3 separate regions of the Homo sapiens genome follow, and all the other regions are linked to region 2. Evidence: promoter capture Hi-C in 16 types of primary human blood cells and fetal thymus (Javierre and others, 2016). All regions are on one chromosome and are shown on one strand. The core of a region is centred on a gene start or on the middle of the fragment in contact, and the rest is flanking DNA. Distances in the headings are between cores, read along the strand shown. Region 1 has its middle 20 kb from the start of TMPRSS11B. Region 2 holds the start of AMTN (amelotin). Region 3 overlaps TMPRSS11E (transmembrane serine protease 11E).

Region 1 (4,780 bases), core at 1,773-4,272, 2.3 Mb after region 2:
TTCAACCCACCAGTTCTGTCTGTTGTACTAAAGGTAAAAGGCTAAATGTTAGAGTTAAATGAAATTCACAAATGACCTCATAATGGAAGAGCAGATAAAACATTTTGACTTGTTTTTATAAAAAAGATGTGGGTTTTTCTTGCCTGCTTCCCAGATAAAGTTGATTTATCAAGACAAGGGAATTGCAATAGAGAAAGAGTTTAATACACGTAGAGCCAGCTAAATGGGAGAGCAGAATTTTCTTATTACTCAAATCAGCCTCCCCTCAAATTCAGATGCTAGGGTTTTTTACAGATACTTTGGCAGGCAGGAACTAGGAAATGGGGAATGTTGATTAGTTGGGTCCTCTTGTGCTGAGTCAGTTCCTGGGTGGAGGCCACAAGATCAGATGAGCCAGTTTACCAGTCTGGGTTGTACCAGCTGATCTATCAGAACATAGGGTCTAAAAAAATATCTTGAACACCAATGTTCGGTTTTGCAGTAGTTATGTTATTCATAGGAACAACTGGGGAGGTTGTAGCCTCTAGCTGCATGACTTCTGAGTCATAATTTCTAATCTTGTGTCTCATTTGTTAGCTTTATGAAGGCAGTCTGGTCCCCCCAGCAAGAAGGCAATTTGTTTAGGGAAGCGCTGTTATCACCTTTGCTCCAAAGTTAAATTATAAACTAAATTCCTCCCAGAGTTAGTTTGGCCTATGCCCAAGAATGAACAAAGGCAGCTTGGAGGTTATAGGCAAGATGGAGTCAGTTAGATTAGATCTCTTTCACTGTCATAATTTTCTCACCATTATAGTCTTTTCAAAGGCTGTTGGCTCTCTTTGAATACACAATACATAATACTTATTATGTGTCTGGAAATTTAGATATATCTTTTTAACTTCGTCTTCACAATTTTCTATTTTTTAAAAACGAAAAATGAGACTCTGAGAGTTTAAGTAATTTGCCCAAGGTCATATAGAATGTAAACAACCCAACTCAAATTTGCAGCCAGATTTTCAGAGTGTATCTTCTTCCACTTTACCATATTTTCTTCTTCTCTAGGAATTTAGAATAATTAAAAGAGTAGAGCAGGCAATGGCAAGGACTCTGGAGCAGATCTTCTGGGTCTGAATTTCACCTGTCACATACTAATCATGAAATGCTTGGCAGGTTATTTAACCTCTTCATGCTTCAGTTTAACAATCTATAAAATAACAGGTAATAATACCTACCTCATAGCGTTGCTGTGAGAATTGAGTTGATATATGGAAGAATCACAGGGCGTTAAGGTGCTTAAAAAGGTCTCTCTAAAAAGCTAAAATCTGAGCTAGATCTTGAAAAATGGGTAGGATTCATTGGCAGGAAAAAATAGGGTGTTTTATGAGAACTGTAAACTAAAAGTAAAATCCTAAGCCTCTCCCTTAGCCAAGGGGAGAAAAACCTTAAAAACTGAATTCCTGGCCTGGCACAGTGACTCACAGCTATAATTCCATAGGTGGATCATGAGGTCAGGAGTTCGAGACCAGCCTGGCCAACATGGTGAAACCCTGTCTCTACTAAAAATACAAAAATTAGCTGGGCATGATGGCAGATGCCTGTAATCCCAGCTACTTGGGAGGCTGAGGCAGGAGAATCACTTGAACCCGGGGGGCTGGAGGTCGCAGTGAGCCAAGATCACGCCATTGCACTCCAGCCGGGGCAACAGAGTGAAACTTCACCTCAATTCAAAACAAAACAAAACAAAACAAAAAAAAGACAAAACTGAAATCTTGGCTATGATGTGAAGGAAGGTCAGACATGCTGCCTTATACTCTCTCCCTTTTGCAGTTTAGGCATAACAGCTGACTAGCATTAATGTTAAAATAGACATCTTAAGACTGACATAACAGATACTTTGCTGCAGTAAGATAGTAAATTATAAACAAGTCCTAAGGCCATGCAAGGCAAGTGTGAAGCCTCACCCACAGGCCATCAATCTTGCCACATCCTTATCTTGCTACATCTTTATCTTGACTTAAAACATTTAAAACAATTTGTTCTGCTGACTTTAAGTTTTAGAGAGAACCTTACTCCTTTAATCAATTGCAAATTAAAGAATCTTTGAATCCACCTATAAACTGTAAGCCGCTCCCCCTTCAAGATATCCCACCATTTTGAGGTCAAACCAATGAATACCTTCCGTGTATTGATTAATATCTTTGCCTGTAACTCCTGCCTCCCTAAAATGTATGAAACCAAACTTTAACCACCTTGGGCGCACTTTCTCAGGACTTCTTGAGATTGTGTTTTCTCTGGGCTCATGGTCATTCATATTACCTCAGAATAAAACTCTTTAAAATATTTTAGAGTTTGATTTTCCTGTTAACAGAAAAATAGTAAGAACTTATAACAATAAGAAGTAAAATATAAAGTAAATGAAGGAGAAAAATGTTATCATATATCTTAGGGACATTAAATAGGAATATCATTTTTTAATGAAGTAAAGTAGGTTTTCGTTGGAGAACTAATAAATATGATAGAAAAAGCAGGTTGTAGACAGTTATGGAGAACCTTGAATGCTATCCTAATGCATTTACCCTGTGGAATATGATGAACTTTTTTTAAGTGAAAGCAAGTTTATTAAGAAAGTAAAGGAATAAAAGAATGTCTACTTCATAGACAGAGCAGAAGCTTGGGATATTAGACTAAGGATACTTACAGTTATTTATTGATTATTTGCTAAACAAGAGGTGTATTCTTCATGAGTTTTCTGAGAAAGAGGTAGGCAATACCCAGAATTGAGGTTTCCTCCCCTTTTTAGACCATATGGGGTAACTTCCTGACATTGCCATGACATTTGGAAATTGTCATGGCGTGGGTGGGAGTGTCTTTTAGCATGTCAATGCATTATAATATGTATAATGAGCAGTGAGGATGACCAGAGGTCACTCTCATTGCCATCTTGGTTTTGGTGGGTTTTGGCTGGCTTCTTTATCGCAACCTGCTTTATCAGCAAGGTCTTTATGACCTGTATCTTGGGCCAACCTCCTATCTCATTCTGTGAGTTAGAACGTCTTAACCTCCTGGGAATGCAGCCCAGTAGGTCTCTCAGCCTTATTTTACACAGCCCCTACTCAAGATGAAGTTGCTCTGGTTCAAATGTCTCTGACATATTTCCCCCCTTCCCTTTTACAAGGGAATCCTTAATACTAAGGGTTGCAGAGGGATGAAGATTCATCTTCTGTAACTTATTCATGGTGAACAGGGGCAATGATAGTCCTACCTAACTATTAAGGTCTCTTGTATTCAGGGTAGAGAGCAGCTCAGTTAGAAAACATCGGTATGTTAAGGGCCACTCATAACTCTTGAGTTCCAACAAAAGGTGATATCTGGAAAATTAATAAGTGTTCAGTTTAAGAAAACATTTGGTAAGCTTATCCTGCATTCCTACACAAAGAGTAGAACAGCAATATATTCCACAATAGTAAAGCAAAATAAGTAAAATTACCCCAACTAAATGAAATAAGAATGCTTACCATGAACTGGGCAATTGTTGAAACCAAGCTGATATGGGTTGCTAGCTGATTCCAACATGCTCAGAATTAGAATATTGATCCATATTTTTACATTATGCATCTCTCCTGTTTCTCCTGAGCAGCAGCCAGAAATCACTGGTTGGTTCACAGGAAAAAAGTAGGGTCAGTTTAAATCTCAGGAAAAAAAAAACTCCAAAACAATTTATGAGACTAGGGTCTAGTAACAGGTGTACCACAGTTTTTGAAACATGATTTTTTTCTCTCTCCAGTTTCCCATTTTTACTAAGGATAAATCATGGTAAGACTGATTTGCTTTATTATACTTGGCCTGATTATTTCTATAAATTCAGCAAAAATAATTATTTTTTTACATAGGCTTTTAAAAATTGGCTTTGATGGAAATCTGTTCCATAGAAGTAATCTCAGATAAGACTTTTAAAACCAATCCCAGCCATAGGTTTGTACCCTCAAATACCCATGAGTTGGGTAAATTCCTCTCCACTTGAGGTCCCAAGGTAATTTGGGGCTTCTGAGGCTATTAGAAAGTGACATTCTTTACTTACTGTAGGTCAGGAACCCTGTACAGGGACTGTGTAGACAATGTATAAGGCCAGTTTTCCCAAGGGCTTTTTATTGGTTCTACAAGTTAAATTTGATTCTTTAAAGGAAAGCACACCATTCTAGTCAAGGCCTTGGTAAAATAACGAGTTTCTCCAATTGTGTCCTATTGAAAAATAAAACATTGTTATTGCACTTACGCAAATAACTATATTGCCATAAGTTAAGAATACTCACACATAGTCTCCAAATTCTGGAGAAATCAGGTAGAGAGAAACAAATATGCTCCACCTTTTGTTCATGGGAGTATACTATAATCAGTCATTAAAAGCTGTAAATAGCTCAAAAGAAAAGTTTCCTTGACTCTAAAAAACAAGATAAAAGATCAGCAATGTTTTAAGCAAAAAGTCAAAAAAGATCACATAAGCCTTCTATTAATTTCTATTAAGTTAACTCCTGTCCTGCTTGATATTCATAAACATTTTGGCTCTCCATGAGTCCTGAAAGTTTTTCTCTCTATTCTAGTGTCATAATTTCCAAAGTTGTCAGAAACCTGCATTCAAGAGCACCTGAAAGTTCTATAGCTGATTATAAACCACCTTTTGAAGAGGATGAAAACTAGAAAACAATTGTCCATGGATGACAAAACATCTTAGGGCAGCCTCTATTAAAGCTACAATTGACTAGAAATTTTGATTACTCCTGTGGCATACAACAATTTTACATAA
Region 2 (4,506 bases), core at 225-2,724:
GAAGTGAAAGAACCATTTGTTTTATAAAAAAATTAACTTCATACTTTACCTTGTTTAGAAAATTAAACTTTTACAGACAACTTCTTTCAAGGAGGACACACACACACAGACACACACACACACACACACGTATGTAGTATGTATTTGGGATAAAGTAAGAAGGAGGTTGGCTACCGTATCTTGCTTCATCCTCCCCCCGCATAATCCCACCCTGTTCATTTCCTTCACATAAATAATCACAGTTATTATTTATAATTTAACATTTCTTTAAAAATCATTTGAGTAAAAAATAAAAAAATTGGCAAGTGACATTGGTAAAAATAAAAAAAAAGTTAAAAAAAAAATTAATGTCTACAATCCTTGTGAACACCATGAAGGATTATGCCTTTTTTTCCCTTCTCACTATTGTTTCTTCAGCACCTAGCACAATGTCTGGCATATAGAAAGTTTTTAATAAATATTTGTTGATTGTACGAATGGATGCAGAAGTATTGAGTAAGCTTGAGGCCCAACTAAGTATGCTTTCTTTTATTCTGTTATTTCATAGCAAGTATATTGTAATTTTTTTCTTAATGGTCTTGAACCATCTTGAACAGTCAAAGAGAAGTCCACCTAGAGATCCAAACCATTCATCCCTATGTCTACAAAATAATGGAGTAAATGTTGGAGTTATAGGGCTTTTTAATTTTTTCCTGTTATATGTGAATACTATTTATGATTTAATGTTCTAAGTCAAAAATTTTGATCATTTTAATCATATGCCTTTGATATCATATGTTTTGGTGGTCTTTTTAGAATTTATACAATCTAGATATTTAGCATTTCCAAGTAGAAAAATTAGAAAATATAGTTCACCTCTTTATTCATGAGCAAATAACTAGTTGCCAAGAAAAAACTTCTTTTTGGAAAATAAAATAATCATCCACTTAACACATTCATTTTTCTCCTAATTTCTAGCCTATTGCTCTGCCAAAATAATTGACCTTTTACCACGATGGAGTGGATGCATTTAAAAAAATGCAAGTACATTGAAATATGTACCAACAGCTTATTAGCTTGTCATTTTCTGTCTTGGAAAATAAACACTGGACACTCTCAGGGAATGAGTCACAAAACAGAGCAGTTTTGATGGAGGGCAGGAGAGAGGTAGGTCTGCAGCTAGAGATGCTGTTGAAACTGGCTGGCATATAAAACAAACATAACATACTTACTGGTAATGACCGAGTTGATCCTAGAAGACAAAACAGTAGAATCGTACTCCTCATGTTTCAGATTGCTACCTACAACAACAAAAAAGTGTTACTCTTCCATGTATTTTTTTTCCTTTTAAGAGAAAATGATACTTTAAAAACAAAAGTTCTACTTGAAACATGGTCAATTAATGTTACCTTTGGGTCCACGAGGCAAAATGTACAATACTCAAGGTCCAGTTGGTTTCTCAAGTTTACTCTGGTGAAAAATTTTACCCTTCAATGATGTATGTGTTTGTAGAAGAAATTTAAACTCAGTTCCAGGAGATTGGAAACTGAGAGACCAATCAGGATTTAGCTGTCTGTTAAATCATTTGTTTTTTTTTCATTTCCCAACACTTCATTAGGTGGGTTATTAGCTGCAGACATTATGTTACCCAATGTCTACCATTTGAATAGAAGGTGTTTCAAGGAGACAGGCCTTATGTAATTAAAAAAAGATGCAGACAATAAAATAATTTAAATGCTTCTTCACCTCCTTCTTCTTCCCAAATGATTTCTCAGATGTACGTGTTTTATCATGTAAGTATGAATACATAAATCAAACATCAAAATATAGGGCTCTGTACAAGGTTTAAAAAATGAAGTCTACTATGTAGATTGCTCTGGAACTTATGTTTACTTAACAAATAATGGACAACTTTATGTGTTAGTACATACAGGTTTATTTTATTTATTTAATGGGTACACATCATTATATCACATTTTGATGAACATTTAATCCATTTCCAGTTTATTTTGTAATTACAAAGGTATCACAAGCACCATTCTTATAAAACCTTTTTTTCACACATATGGGAGTATTTTCGTAGGTGTTATTCTTAGAAGTAATGTATCAGAGGATATGTACATTTAAGTAATGTATCAGAGGATATGTACATTTAAGTAATGTATCAGAGGGTATGTACATTTAAGTAATGTATCAGAGGGTATGTACATTTAAGTAATGTATCAGAGGATATGTACATTTATGGCCAAATGGTGAATGGCTTGCTTTATATTAAACAGGGAAAATGATACTATAACCTAAGCAAAACACAGGGAATCAACTGAGATTTCTTTTACAAGAAGAACAGTTAAGTGCTACTTAACATTTTACCATGAAGCTGTGGGCTTCACCTGGAATTTTTGAGATATGCCCCAAAGGGAGGTGGAGGTCTGTTAATCAATTTCTGAGACCATTTCAATGATGAGCCTGTGTCGCACCAGGATTTGGGATTTGACCTTTAAAAAAGAAAAACAAAAAAAACCTATAGAGTGTCTATGAATGGAAAATTAACTGAGATGATACATTTTTTTTTCAAAGCTTCTCTCTAACTGTTCAATTAATCTATATAATCAATGTTTGTTACTCTGATACTCTGTTAGGAATGGGGAACATTATGTAGGAGGAGAAATACAAGATCAACAAGTATGTGCAAATATAGGAGTATTCAGGTGTAAGAAAGAGTGTGGTGAATTTTGTTGGGGGCAAAAGGACAGGAAAAGCTTAAAAGAGGAGATCATCCTTGAGTTTGGATTTGAAGAATAAAAAAAAAATTTATGAAGAACGCAAGGAGAGCACCCAGGCTGATCAAAGGTCTAGATTTGAAGTAGTGACATTGCTTTCTGTCACTGGAACAAGATGGGGTGAGGATAGCAGTGGAAGACAGGGTTGGAGATGATATCTAATTTTAACTACCTATAGCTTTTTTTGGTTTGTTTCTATCACTGATTTTGGCACTTGGTCAGATATTACTTTATATGGCTTTTTTATTATTTCTTGACTTTTTGTTTCTCTTGAACTAGATGGAGAGTTCCTGGGGCCGCATCTTATATTTCTTGTCTTTCATGTTTGTAATATTTTAAAGCATCATATGGTCATCGAATGTTGACGAATAAATGGTAAAGGCATATACTGTGGGGAAACAGAGCAAGATTGAGTTGAGGGAAGATTTTAGAGAAGAGATTGGGCTTTAGGTGGATTTGGAGAATAAGTATAATCCACAAGACAGACTAGCATGTTAAAGTGGCTGATAGTGAGAGGAGCAATGAGACATAGTGCTGAAGGATGTGGAAGGAAAGCAACTTTAGGTTCTCATGGGCTTTCACAGGCAAATTCATTGTTTCTTTTATTCAATCAATTCATTTTTCCAGCTCTCATTTAACATAGATTCACTCTTTGTTCACCAACATTGTGTCAGTGTCTGGGATAAAACAATTAATGGAAGGGACAAAAACCCTGCCCTTAAAGAGCTTAGGTTTTGTTGGGGGAATATGAAATATTCAACCAGGTCATTGCAAGAGAGGGACTCCGTGACACTGGGCATCTACTTTATTTGGGCATTATTTTCAGTGAATGTAGAGGGTTGGGAGCGTCATATATATATATATATATATATATATATACGTATATATATATATACGTATATATATACATGTATATATATACATATATATGTATATATATACGTATATATATATATACGTATATATATATATATATATATATTTTTTTTTTTTTTTTGGGTGGAGGTAGAGTTGAATTTTATGTCACTGTTGTTCTTGGCTTAGGTGAGGAGACCTGTGTTATAGTGTTAGTCTAGAATGTGGTTCTATTCAATAGTTTATTTGAATTGAATAATTCCTCGTGACTGGGCATCAGGTGATTTAGGGACCTCACAGTGAGTCAATTGCTTGTTGCAGACATGACTCCAACCCTCAGCGGGAATCGGACATGCCCTAGCCAGGAAACTGAGCAGTCAGTGGGATTAGATCAAAATAAACAAGCAAAATTAAAAACACTGAGTAATTTCTTAGGCAAGAAATTTTAAGTCTGAAAGCAGACAACTTGCAATAATGTGATTACGGAGTTGGGAGTCAAGAAATACATATTATAAAAGGAAAAGAATTCTTAAATCATTCCAAGACAAGGAGACATCAGCAAAAACAGTGAGATAATTTATGTTTCCAAAATGACATAGAACATCAGAATTCATTAAAGTGTTTTATGAACTATAGGACACATCTCTTAGCCCTTTAGTTCCAGGCATTCCTTAATCTTTCTTATTAGCTTTAGTTGTAAGTTTCTTTGGGTTATGGACCCTTTTGAGAAGCTGATTGAATGCACATGTCATCTCCTCAGAAAAATGCATATATGCTTATGAATGTAATGATTATGAAATAACTTCAGGGATTTCATGGATCTCCTGAGAGCCCAACTATAAAGAAACAGGTTAAAAATCTCTGGGTTAGAGGAGTCTTAGTGGAATTCCTT
Region 3 (4,238 bases), core at 352-2,851, 2.0 Mb after region 2:
CAGGTCTCTGTCTTTCACTCCACCTTGAGTTATATAATAAAAATTACATTAGGACAAATTATAGAATCATAGTTATAAAAAGTAAGAGCAACAAATATTTATTGATTGTGCTCCTAAACTGGAATCCATTCCACAAATACAGTAGAAGCTGATACAGATGTGTCAGAAAACTCTTAAATATAACATGTATCAGAAACTAAATTCAGGTATAAAGATTCTCCATATCAACCATGTCTTTAGTCTATGTTTGATTGTGTACCCTGTGGAAAGGTGAAAAACAGACTTTATATCAACCAACATAAGATACATGGAAGTGCCATGGTAGAGTCCATGCAGAATTACAGAAATTGAGCAGTAATACCTTCATGAAGGAAATACTGTTCATTCTTTTCTACCCAAAGCCATTTCTTCTTTTTTATTTCACGTATATTTATTTGTTTGCTTTTATTACTCTTTATTTTTATTTAATAAATCTTTATAGAACAACTGCCATAAACAATATTATAGTTTCCTGTGAACTGTGAAGGATATAAAAATGAACCAGTTAGTGTCCCCACCCTCATGGAGTTTACAGTCTAGTTGTTGAAATCACATCTGTCTGCACATGTGAAATACACAGGTAGATATTCTAAGTACAGAGAGTTTTACAAGTAGTAAGGAGCCATGTGAAAAGAATATGGCCGTTTCTTAAAAATCTAAACATGTACTTACCGTATGACCCAGCATACTCTAGGCCATAAATCTCAGAAAAATAAAACTTATGTCCACACAAAAGCTTACACACAAATCTTCATAGCAGCTTTATTTGTAATAGCCAAAACCTGAGAACAATCCAAATGCCCTTCAGTGGGTATACAGTTAACAAACTGAGGTACAGCCCTATCATGTAATACTACTCAGTAATAAAAAAAGAATTAACTACTGACACACACAACAACTTGGACAGATCTCAAGAAAATTATACTGAGCGAAAAAGCCAACCTGAAAAAGTTACATATTGTATAATATATTTATATACCATTCTTGAAACAATAAAAATTATAAAGATGGAGAGCAGATTAGTGGTTGCCAGGGATTAGAGACTAGACACAGGCCTAGGGAGGGAGCTGGATGGCTGTCGGTAGCGTGATGTAGCCTTGTGAACAAACTATCTGTATCTTGGTAATCACATGAATCTACATATGTAATTAAATTACATAGAACTAATTACACACACACCTACACACACATATATAATTGATTGCATCCTAATAAAGTTAATGGATTGTCTCAATGTCAACTTCTTCATTGTAATATTATACTACACCTAAGCAAGATCTTACTATTGAGGTAAACTGAGTAAAGGGTACACAGAATCTCTGTGAATTATATCTTACAGTTATATCTTAACCGTATCTGAATCAATGATTATCTGAAAATAAAAAAAATTAATGGTAAGGAAGTTCAGAAGAAACGTATAGTACATCCACTTGAGGAAGTAAAAAAAGGCTTCAGGGAAGAGGCGACATTTGAACTACACCATAGATCTTGATATAATCCAGCCACTCGGTGGTTAATAAAGTTTATCATTTTTTAAAATTGAAGTCAAAAGTTAGAATGAACCCTCACATTGACAGACCACTTTGATAAATATGTTTCGGAATTATCCCAGTAAAACTTTTTGTAGAATCAGAAATTTTTTTAACTAGCACATTTTGTTGGTCTAATTATCTTGTCATTTCAAAAAAAAAAGGTATTCAGCCTGTTATAATCAAATACCATATTTTTTAAAACAAGAGTGTAGTTTCATTATAGCAACAGTTATTATTACTATGGTCTCTTGAACACCTACTAATGTTCCAAGAACTGTGCTAAGCACTTTTTAAACATTCACAGTTTTATTTCCACAACAATCATTTGAGCAAATATCATCTCTATCTTACGGGTGAGATTATAGGCTTAGATAAATAGTAACCGGCTTAATTCACTCAGTGTAAAATCTGGGATTACTTTTAAAAATCAATGTGTAAATAATAATAAAGCTATGTTTTCTGCATAATGTAAAAATAAAAGAGTCATTCAACAACATTTATTGAAGGACTGTTATATACAGAGTACTTTACTAGTGCTGTAGGAAGAGAGATCGAAGATATAGAAGAGGAACTGCCTGCCCTCTTGAAAAAAGTAATAAATATTATCGTCACATCTTCTTAACTATCTCCAATGAAACAGTTAACACAGACATGCAGATAAAACCCTTTGGTAATTACTTTTCAAAAGAAGTTACCATTTTAGAAATGTATTACCTATTTCTCTATGTACATAAAGTTTGAACTATCGCTCATATTTTCACTTTGACCCAAACTTCTATTTCTCAAATCCTTTGTAGAAGGAAATATCAAAAGTATTTCTCTTAGGAATAAGATGTCATTGCAAAATTAAGCTTTTAAAATTTCTTCTTAATTTAAATTGCTCCAGGTGCTTTTGCAGAGGGAGTTCCTCAAATCATGCAACATAAATTTTATTTTAGTTTGGAATCAAATGTCCAGAAATTTGAAAAATACGAATAATGATGTAAATCAACACGAATTAATTTTTAAACGCCATTTGCAAAGAAAAACTGTATTCTTTTGGTTTCACGAGACTCTAATTTCAGGTACAGTTCTCATTATTACTTACAGATCTAGACATCCTTCTTGATGTCAGGCTTCCCCATAGCTTCCTACAGCTTGTGGGTGCCACCTAGAGGCCCAACTACAGAATACACTGAAACAAGAGGAATCCATTTTTAACAGAACACTGAGAGTAGTTTTAAAGGTACTTATATCCTTGCTTAAAATTCAAGGTTTTCCTCAATTTTGTTTTTTCCCAGAGCATTTTGCTAAATGAAACAAAAATAGCTTATGCAAAATATTTAGCACTATCAATTCATGTCAGTTTTCATATTTTTGCCAAGTGCCTAAATGTTATCAGTTCATACTCCAGTGTTATTCAGATCAATAAACTTAAATTTTTCGTGGCAATACTGGTTTTCAGGGTAATTATTGTACAATATAGAACTTATATGAGTAGCTATATGCAATGAGGACAGACTTGGTGAAATCTCACCATTAACATGCCGTACATCATGGTACCAGTCCTAACTTCATTACGGTCTGGATTACTTGAAAGCTGTGTCTCTAACAGCTCAGTAATAATTTACCAAAACTAAAAATCATGAAGGTGGCCAATATCATGCTTTTACTCTTCAGTTTTGTTATCCAGGCAGTTAGCCATTCAGTGTCACACTAGATGCAGCAGTGAGGCAGCTTCCAGGATATTTTCTCTATGGTATCTTTCCATCTCAGCGAAGAGGAGTCTAACAGGACCATTAACCATGTATGAACTGTAAACACAGCAGCAGGGGAAGAAAAATATCTACAATCATCTCAAAATAGAGGTCTGAGCCCCAGTTCAGTTGCATGACTAGACTGTACACTAACACCTGGATCTCATTCCCTTCAAGGATTTGCTGTTTGGGAAAGTCTTAGATGAATAAAACCTTTCCAGTCAATTGTTTGAACTCTTCGTTCCCTCCCATTCCACAACACAATTATTTTAGTACATAAGCATGCTGATTGTTATTAAATTAATTTTCATCCTAGCCTCAAATTTTAAAAAAATTTACAATAAATTGACTAGTAACATTTTTCCCATCTTCCCCTTCTTTGTGGATTATCATATCATAATGTCAAGCAAATGGGTGATTTATATTTTATTGTTATATGTTGACATCCTCAGTAACAATGTTAAATAAATATTTGCTTTAATTTGCTTAGAACAAGTACATTGCATGAAGTTTGTATAATTATTATAGGTCACAAAAAAACAGAATCTTCTTCACATTTATCATAGTAGTTGTTTGGAAATGAAAATAAGGATATATCTTGGCTTCTTTCTGGATTTCCTTAACTTAGTTCCCATACTTCCTAAATGATGAAGTGATTGGTATTCTGCTGTCTTTGCTTGACCTTTCATAATGAATATGATCATTTCTAATATTCCACTAAGAAAAACACCTAATACTTTTCTGTGCCAATAAAATGTAGGGGATTTTTTTCTTCTTATATTTTCTTTCACTCCTTGTTCTGCACCTTGAAAATGGATATTTGCTGAAATGAGAGGAGCTGAGGAACTGAAGAAAAGGAGTGCTTCAAATTGTATATATGCATTACAAATTTATGTCAACAAGTCAAAATTCTGACAAAACTTCTAGAGAA

Evidence for each region. Contacts are between HindIII fragments. The CHiCAGO score rates a contact against its expected background, and 5 or more counts as called.
Region 1: a contact is called between a fragment that was not itself captured here and the fragment with the promoter of AMTN in region 2, in 1 of 17 cell types (total B cells). The highest score is 5.7, in total B cells.
Region 3: a contact is called between a fragment that was not itself captured here and the fragment with the promoter of AMTN in region 2, in 1 of 17 cell types (total B cells). The highest score is 5.1, in total B cells.

The regions. Positions count from the first base shown.
Region 1 is chr4:68,263,390-68,268,169 of GRCh38, reverse strand. No RefSeq gene overlaps it. Among named protein-coding and RNA genes, the nearest start is that of TMPRSS11B, 20 kb to the right of the region's middle. The HindIII fragment of the contact is 742 bases long and covers 2,652-3,393 here.
Region 2 is chr4:70,515,537-70,520,042 of GRCh38, reverse strand. AMTN (amelotin) reads right to left here and starts at 1,474. Exons shown (of 9, transcript NM_212557.4): 1 at 1,389-1,474; 2 at 1,212-1,280. The coding sequence starts at 1,265. The HindIII fragment of the contact is 2,056 bases long and covers 503-2,558 here.
Region 3 is chr4:68,497,085-68,501,322 of GRCh38, reverse strand. TMPRSS11E (transmembrane serine protease 11E) reads right to left here. Exons shown (of 10, transcript NM_014058.4): 10 at 3,719-4,238. Among named protein-coding and RNA genes, the nearest start is that of TMPRSS11E, 52 kb to the right of the region's middle. The HindIII fragment of the contact is 1,647 bases long and covers 778-2,424 here.